Regions from separate parts of the Homo sapiens genome. Here region 1 is linked to region 2. The links are contacts of gene promoters, found by promoter capture Hi-C in blood cells and fetal thymus (Javierre and others, 2016). All regions are on one chromosome and are shown on one strand. The core of a region is centred on a gene start or on the middle of the fragment in contact, and the rest is flanking DNA. Distances in the headings are between cores, read along the strand shown.

Region 1 (4,260 bases), core at 900-3,399, 57 kb after region 2:
TGTGATAGGGGGATGGATGGATGGATGGATAGATAGATAGATCAACAGATAGATTGACCTAGTTCATAATTCTTTACATTAAATTCCCTCTGTCCAAATAACTGATGTGATTTCTGTCTCCCAGGTGGACCTTCATTGATGTATCCATTGAGCAGCCATTCTAGAAGGCAAATCTAATCATGCCATTCCCCTGCTTAAAACCTTTTAATAGTTCCCTATCTTCAAGTTAACCTCTTAGTCCATCATTCAAGGCTCCTAACCATCCAACCAACATCTACAAATGCATACTATATACTCTAAATTGTAATCACAACCAGCAACTTGCTATTTCATGGACACAAGCTTTTCCTATCCCCATCATCCCCAGGTAATTTTGCATATCTTCTTCCCTTTGCCCAGAATGTCTTCCCCACCTTCTCTACCTGGAAAACTCCTATTCTAAGTGTGAGTCACCTACTCTGTGAAGCCTTCCTTGACTTCTTCAGGCAGAGCAAAGATTGCCTCTTTTGGTCTTCCCCATTGCACTCCTAGAGCACTTGTCAAATTGTGTAACTGTTTGCATAACTGTCTCCCCCTAGACTAGGAGGTGCTCAATCCTGAGGCTCCATCCTCATTCCTTCTCGAATCCTTGAAGCCTAGAATACTGACTTGTATAGGGCGAAGCTCAATCCATGTTTGTTGAATGAAAAACACACAAACAGATCCACGCTACAGTCCACTTGCAAATTTACATAAGTCATGCCCGCGGGTAAACAAAAGTGATGTCTAAGATTTAACAAATGATAAAGTTTACATTTTAAAGCTCAAGTTTCATTCTATTTTTAGAAATATATGAACATAATTAATAGCCATGGTCTTGTTTTCTCTTTTGGCATCGAGTTTTGCTCATTTTCAGAGGGGTCTGCTTCTGGGAATGGCTTTAACAAGTTCATAAAAGCCAGACTCATCTGAGGCTTTGCCTAAAGGATAATATTTATCTTATTGAATTAACTTTATTTTTAATCACAATAAATGTTGGTTTGTTTTTTGTGGTTTTGTTGTTGTTTTTTGAGAATCACGCAGGCTGAAGCACAGTGGCGCGATCTGGGATCACTGTAACCTCCGCCTCCCGGGTTCAAGTGATTCTCCTGCCTCAGCCTCCTGAGTAGCTTGAATTACAGGCGCCCACCGCAATGCCAGGCTAATTTTTTTGTATTTTTAGTAGAGATGGGGTTTCACCATTTTGGCCAGGCTGGTGTCAAACTCGTGACGTCAAGCGATCTGCCTGCCTTGGCCTCCCAAAGTGCTGGGATTACAGGCTTGAGCTACTGCGCCCGCCTTAATCACAATACATGTATTCTTATTTTATTATTAAAATTATACAGACTTTGGAAACTACAGTGGAAAATAAAACAGATAAGTATAAAGAAGAAACTAAAAATTCCCTTAAAATCCACCACCTGGATATAACCACTCTTAGCATTTGGTGAACCAAATGCACCAGTAGGAGCTCAAGCTGCTTCTTTCTGCCATGATCTGGTAGGTTATATTTTTCAGGGTTTCAGACTGGCTCTCTTATGTCCTGGCTGACTGCTGAGCCTCAGCACACAGAGAGCCAAGGCCTTGCCCTTGGTGAATAGACACCCCAGTCATAAATCACAGGTCTCCGCTCTGAAATCCATCGGGCTTGTGTGAGCATGAGTTCAAAGAAGAAAACAATGATCAGATAATATCTGCTGAGTAATCAGTCCAATGACAAGTTGAAAAAACACACTCATATTTGAAAAACAGGATTATTGAATTAGCAAAAGGGAACATATTAGACAGCAGGTCTGAGTTTCCAAATGTCTTTTTGAAATAATTAACTCCAGGAAGTAGGGATGGAGTACATTCATTGCAAATGGGAACGGCTGCAGGACTGCTAGCTAGAAGGCGGCCCTGGGGAAGGGGTGTACAGAAGAGGGCTTGGGTGAGGGGCTATCCTATGAAACCAGGCATTTCTACCAATATGAAAAGGCTCTCGGCAGAGTGGTTAAAAGTGTGGGCTTAGAGATCCAGGCTCGAGTCTTTGCTCCACCACTGACCAGCTGTAAGACTGTCAGCAAGTTAAGTTTTAACTTCCTCAAGCCTTGGTTTTCTCATCTGTAAAATGGGAATAATCTAAATTCCTAATTGATGGGATTGTAGTGACAACTATATAGAACTTTTCAGATGGATTCGCAGTCCATGGTGAGCCCTTGAGGCTTGCTGATGATGATTGTGCTTGTTCCTATGAAGAATGAGATGGAAGAAGGGCAGGTGTGTGTTCACAAGGGGCACAGTTGATTCTGGATTAAGAGGGCATTGAATGTGGTGAAGGTCACTGAAATCACTTGAGACCTTAGACTCTTGCTGATTCACTATAGGAAAGAAATCACACAATGAGATTTAAAGCAGATGAAGCCGGCCTCCAGAATCTCTTAAGAAAAAATAAAAGGCAGCGGTGTGTGGGTGGGGGGGTGCTCCTGGTAAACCAGTGAGCTATTGCTGCAAGACTATTCTCCTCCTCTGCCTCCTATTTACCAGGCACCCACTAGCCCAACAAGGCACAGGATGCAATGACGAAATGCTGGCACTTGGGGCTTGTGGCTTCCTGGACACCAATCACACTGTTATCTAAGTTGTCTCATCGCCCTAACAGCAGACTTTTCAAGTTGTGCTCCCAAGACTGGGGAAGACTTTGATGTAGATCCAGCATCACTTACCTGTGCCTCCAGGATGAGGCATCTGCAGAACCAACGTCAATTGACCTGGATCCAAGAACAGTTATGGTGATTGGAAATTGATCAAAATACGGAGATCAACGATGCTCAATAGGAGGAAGAGAGAGATGGCAAGGTCTGGGAAAGCTCGTTCCTTTAATTCTCAGGGTCTTAGGATGGAGGAGAAGGAGCCTGGAGACAGGACTCTGGAAGTCTAGAACTCTTCCCAGGGGTATCTGGGCAATCCCCAACAGAGCACTTGGTCTCTAATTTCTCAGAGTGGCCACCTGCTTTGGACTCACTCAGGAAACTTATTAAGGATACAGATGCTTTGGTGCCCTTGTCCCCAACCAACCAGGGTCCCAGGGTCAGGACTCAGGGGTTTTGTGAGTCACAAGGTCTCCAGATGATTCTGAGACTTTCAACCAGAGACTTTAAAGTAGGGAGGAGAAACCAAGATGCCTGTCCTTCGGCTTTATGTGCTAACACTTGCCAAATGCCTTCAAATCTGAGGAAATGGGAGGGAAGAGTTCAGTTCAAGAAGGGAAAACTTCGGCGATGACCTGGGGTTTTCACTTTTATTTTCTAGAATTCCATAATTTTAGCCATGGCTTTAAGCAACTGCTCAATTCAGCTATTGCCCATTTTATAGACATGGAAACTGAGGTGAAGATGACCAAACTCCTGCCTAAAGCCCAACGAATTCTGCCTGTGGAACCCTGGGCTTCTCCTCTCCTCCTGGTGTTCTTTCTTCCACAAGTTTGTGATCCAAACGCATGCATCGTCAAAAGCTCATTTTCAGTGTTTGCTGTCCCTCAGGCTCTGTGCTGAATGCGTTCTATGCACTCTCATTTAATCTTCATCATGATTCAATGATATAAAGAGAAGGAAAATAATGCTCAGAGAGATTCAGCAATTTGCTCAACATCACACAGCTCCAAAGCTGTGGGATCCCAGGGTTCCCAGGGGCCCTGCTCCCAACCTTAACTCTAGATCTAAGCACCTCTTCCCACCCCCCTGGGTGACAGGGAAGAAGAAAATGACCCTTGCTGGTTACACTTTCAGTTATGAGACCCAGAAGAGGCAATGCAAATGGGTTCAACCATGAGTGCTTAAACAACCCCTCCCACATACAACACACACACACCCTCCTCTCAAGACACACATACACGCACATGCACACACACCATCCACACCCTCTATGCCACCCCTGCACATGTCAGGGTGAGGGCATGGAAAGCTTGGAATTCACCACTACCCTTGCTTTGCTCAGCAAGTCAGGAGCCTGCTGAATATGTCAGCTGGCTTGGCAAAGAGGAATCTGTGCTCACAAGGTGGTTCTGGTGGGTGGGACGGGACAGGCTGTGCCACACACCAGGAGCCTGCAGAGACCCAAAGAGGGAGCAGCTGGAGAGGAGAGCAGAGAGTGGGGCTGGCAGGGGGTTGGGGGGGGGGCACCATTGATCTTCTCCAGGGGACACTGAGGTCACAGCTCTGGCAGGCAGCATCTGGATGCCTGCAGGAGGTGGGTAATGGCCCA
Region 2 (3,778 bases), core at 539-3,038:
TGCCCCTATTCCTGTGTTCTGTGTATCTATTCATGACATGTCCATCCACCTGGTCAGCCACGTTCAAAACTTGAATCTTTTGACTACTCACTATACTTCACTTCCTATATCCAATTGGTTGCCAAATACTGCCCACTGAACAGCTTCCAAGCATCTAATCTCTCTCTTCTTTATCTACTGCTGGAATTCTCTTCCTGAAGCCCAGATTTATGTTATTATTTGCCTTACATTTTCCTCCCATTTTCTATGGAATGGCCTAACTCCTTAGAATGGTACCAAGATTTTCCACAGTTTGGCCATTCCTTTCCACCCCACTGCACCTTGTTTTCATTGTCCTCAGAATTTCATTTATAAAGGTGACTGGGTGATGACAATCAATGAGTTAGTGGCCAATGCCTTTGAAAATTTTATTATAGTTCTCAAGAGAAGGGGCTGTGCCTACGGCCACACGAGAAAGTATTAGGGTCAATGAGGAGGTAGAGAGAGCGAGGAGAAAGCCCAGAGCCTTTATTGCCGTGGGAAGGAATGGGCGAAGCAGGGAAGGGAAGTCTGAACAAGCTTAGGATTGAATAATTTGAATAATGTTGGCAAGCTCTGGGATATAGAGGTGAATTTTAGTTGTCTGGTACTTGGCCATGGGGTGGTTTATTACAGTGACTTGGGGCAGGGAAAATATTGGTGTGTGAGATGGATAAAGATGGTGTGGGGATATAGGCTTGGGTTGGTTGGTTTGTAAATGAAAGGGGTGTTCACAAGCAAGTTGTTTGCTATCTCTAGGAATTAGCTAACTCTGAAAGGGGCAATTCCTCCCCAGGTCCCCAAGGCCCCAAGATGTCAAAGCATCATAAAATACAGAAAACAGAAACTAAAATCCATGGTTAATACACACCTCCCTTCACACACACCCTTTACTCCCGGCTCCAGTAGCCCCAGAAATGCTCTAGACGAAGTAAGTTCTGTAGTGCATCTCTCAACAATATGCCGCCACCCATAGCCCTGGCTGAGGAGAGCCACCAAACCTGGTACTATGCGACCATGGTCCTTCCCCTGGTCACTGGATAGTGATCGCACCCAACACAGGCACCCCCATCTACAGGGTGGCTGGAGATCTATGACCATTGTGGCGTACCTGGACCAATCAATAAACTGGACCAATTGGATTTCCATTTTTAGGGATTTAAATTCAGAGCCACAAAAGGAGATTGTCAGTTGATGATGAGCTAAGACACCCTGAAGTATACTCACAACCTTAGCAAGCCATGTGCAGTCTAGTGCTCCACCCCTCTACCCACCCCGTCCAACCCCCACCAAAATACTAACAAAATACAACACACTAGTTCATCATCTAGACCATAATAACTCGCTGGGGATAGTGCTGGAAGTTTTTGTTTGTTTAACATTTCTTTCAAATACTAAGATTAACGGAGTTGCATAGTGAAAAAAACTGTAGGAAAGGGTCGGACTTAGGCCTGGAGTGAAGGGCACAAGATGCTTTTATTTTAAACCCCTAAAAGTGTTGCAAAGTGTTTTTAATTTCATATAAATAGTTAAGGATCACATGAACACAATCCAGTACAAATGGGTCCAGGAGCTTCAACGAGCGTTCCAGCTTCTTCGTAACGTTCCCACACCGTGCAGCAAGCGGAGGGAAGAGAACTTCCGGCGCCCCCACCTACCGCTCCCCAGCCGTGTCCCGCTGCTCTAAATCTGCAGACTTGATCGATTGCTTCTGCCTGGGCGGTACCGCCCGAATTGACTGCTCCTGTCTGATGCGTCCCCGGGCGCGGGAAACGAGTTTCAATCCACTTTCCTGACCCCAACCATCCTGCCCAGTCTCCGCTTCCCCGTCTTGTACACCCCTAACTCCTGAGGCTCCTCCGAATCACGCGAGTGGAAGCGGAGAAGCTCAAGTGGCCGCCATGTCAGAGGCTTATTTCCGAGTGGAGTCGGGTGCGCTGGGGCCTGAGGAGAACTTTCTTTCTTTGGACGACATCCTGATGTCCCACGAGAAGCTGCCGGTGCGCACGGAGACCGCCATGCCTCGCCTTGGCGCTTTCTTCCTGGAGCGGAGCGCAGGCGCCGAGACTGACAACGCGGTCCCACAGGTGAGCCTTTGGGTGCGGGGTCCTGCCCGGAAAGACTGCAGCTCCCGGCGGGCCCCTCGGCCCTGGGACGCCGCATCGGGGCGCGCTGCCCTTTGGGATTTGTAGTTTTCGAGGAGCCAGGGCCGAAGGCGCTAACGACTTCTCGGAAACTCCGCGGGGGTCCCTTCGCGCTCGGGGTGGTCTCCAGACTTCTTGTTCGCCATCTGTGGTGAAACTACATTTATCCTAGGTCGCCAGGCAGCCTCCAACATTGATTTCTTTTTTGAAACTGTCCAAATTAGTGTCTTCCCCCTACCCCATGCAACGTGTGTTGAATGCTTAAAGATTGGCTCCAGCTGAATACTTAAGAATTAGAGTTCTGATCATGTTTGCCTTAAAACAGCTTTGGGTTCTGTAAGAGCATGTGATAAGTAGGAACCCCAAGTTGCTAAATTCATTCCTCCATAATGATGACAGGATCAGTAAGCCCTACTGAGGCTTACTTAGTGGCAGCATGGTTGGGTGTGGGGAGTAAGCTTTTCCCTTTAATCCTTCAGCAACCAGAAAGGCTGGGTCACTTGGCCAGGGCTTCAGTTAGTGGTGAGCTGGGATTCGGAACCCAAGGCCATATGGCTTCAAATATAAAATTGTCCCAGGAACATGGCTTGTAATGATTAATTTGGATATCCTGTTTCACCTAAGTTTTGTATAGAACGATGTTTATTGTTTGGTCTGTTTGTTTCAAGTTAATTTTTATCAAAGTAATACATAACCAACGTTTTAAAAGTCAAATAGGCCGGATGCGGTGGCTCACGCCTGTAATCCCAGCACTTTGGGAGGCTGAGGCGGGCGGATCACGAGGTCAAGAGATCCAGACCATCCTGGCCAACATGGTGAAACCCCATCTCTACTAGAAAGCTGGGTGTGGTGGCCGGCGCCTGTAATCTCAGCTACTCTGGAGGCTGAGGCAGGAGAATTTCTTGAACCCAGGAGGCAGAGGTTGCAGTGAGCCGAGACTGTGCCACTGCACTCCAGCCTGGCGACAGAGTGAGACTCCATCTCAAAAAAAAAAAAAAAAAAAGTCAAATAGTACCAAAAGATTTATAAGAAAAAAAATAGCAGGTCCTGCCTTCCTTTTCCCACTTCCCCCTCCAAGTCCACAGGGCTCATGTACCTTTTTTAGTGGTGTCTTCAAGATTCATCTTCATATTTCTAAATAATATTCTTAAACTTACCTTGTTGGGTTGTTTTTTTTAATGTAGACATTATCTGTTGACTTCATCCTAGCAGATGAGGATTTCGTTCCCATACACACTGGTAAACATGGCGCTATGCTGCCCATACTTAATTCATATTTCCTTAGTTTTTAGTTAATGCCCTTTTTCTATTCTAGGATTCCACCTAGGATACCACACTGCATTTAGTAGACATGTTTCCTTAGCCTTCTCTTGGTTGTGACAATTAATCAGACCTCCTTGTTCTAATGACCTCGACGGTTTTGTGGAGTGGTGGTCAGGTATTTTGTAAAATGTTCCTCAGTTGGAAATCTTTGGTTTGGGGGTAGTTTTGTTTTTGGTTTTGTTTTTTTGTTTGTTTTTTTGACACGGAGTTACCCTGTCATCTAGGCCAGAGTGCAGTGGCATAATCTCAGCTCACTGCAGCCTCCTCCACCTCCTGGGTTCAAGCAATTCTGC

The links. The method cuts DNA at HindIII sites, captures the fragments that hold promoters and counts their contacts. A CHiCAGO score of 5 or more calls a contact.
Region 1: a fragment that was not itself captured here is called in contact with the fragment with the promoter of GINS3 in region 2 in 1 of 17 cell types (endothelial precursors); the score reaches 5.2 in endothelial precursors.

The regions. Positions count from the first base shown.
Region 1 is chr16:58,447,403-58,451,662 of GRCh38, forward strand. All of the region lies in intron 2 of LINC02137 (long intergenic non-protein coding RNA 2137), which reads left to right. Among named protein-coding and RNA genes, the nearest start is that of LINC02137, 28 kb to the left of the region's middle. The HindIII fragment of the contact is 3,618 bases long and covers 341-3,958 here.
Region 2 is chr16:58,390,683-58,394,460 of GRCh38, forward strand. It overlaps GINS3 (GINS complex subunit 3), which reads left to right and starts at 1,789. Exons shown (of 3, transcript NM_022770.4): 1 at 1,789-2,105. The coding sequence starts at 1,920. RefSeq lists enhancers at 1,428-2,005, 1,612-2,101, 2,006-2,582. The HindIII fragment of the contact is 2,062 bases long and covers 557-2,618 here.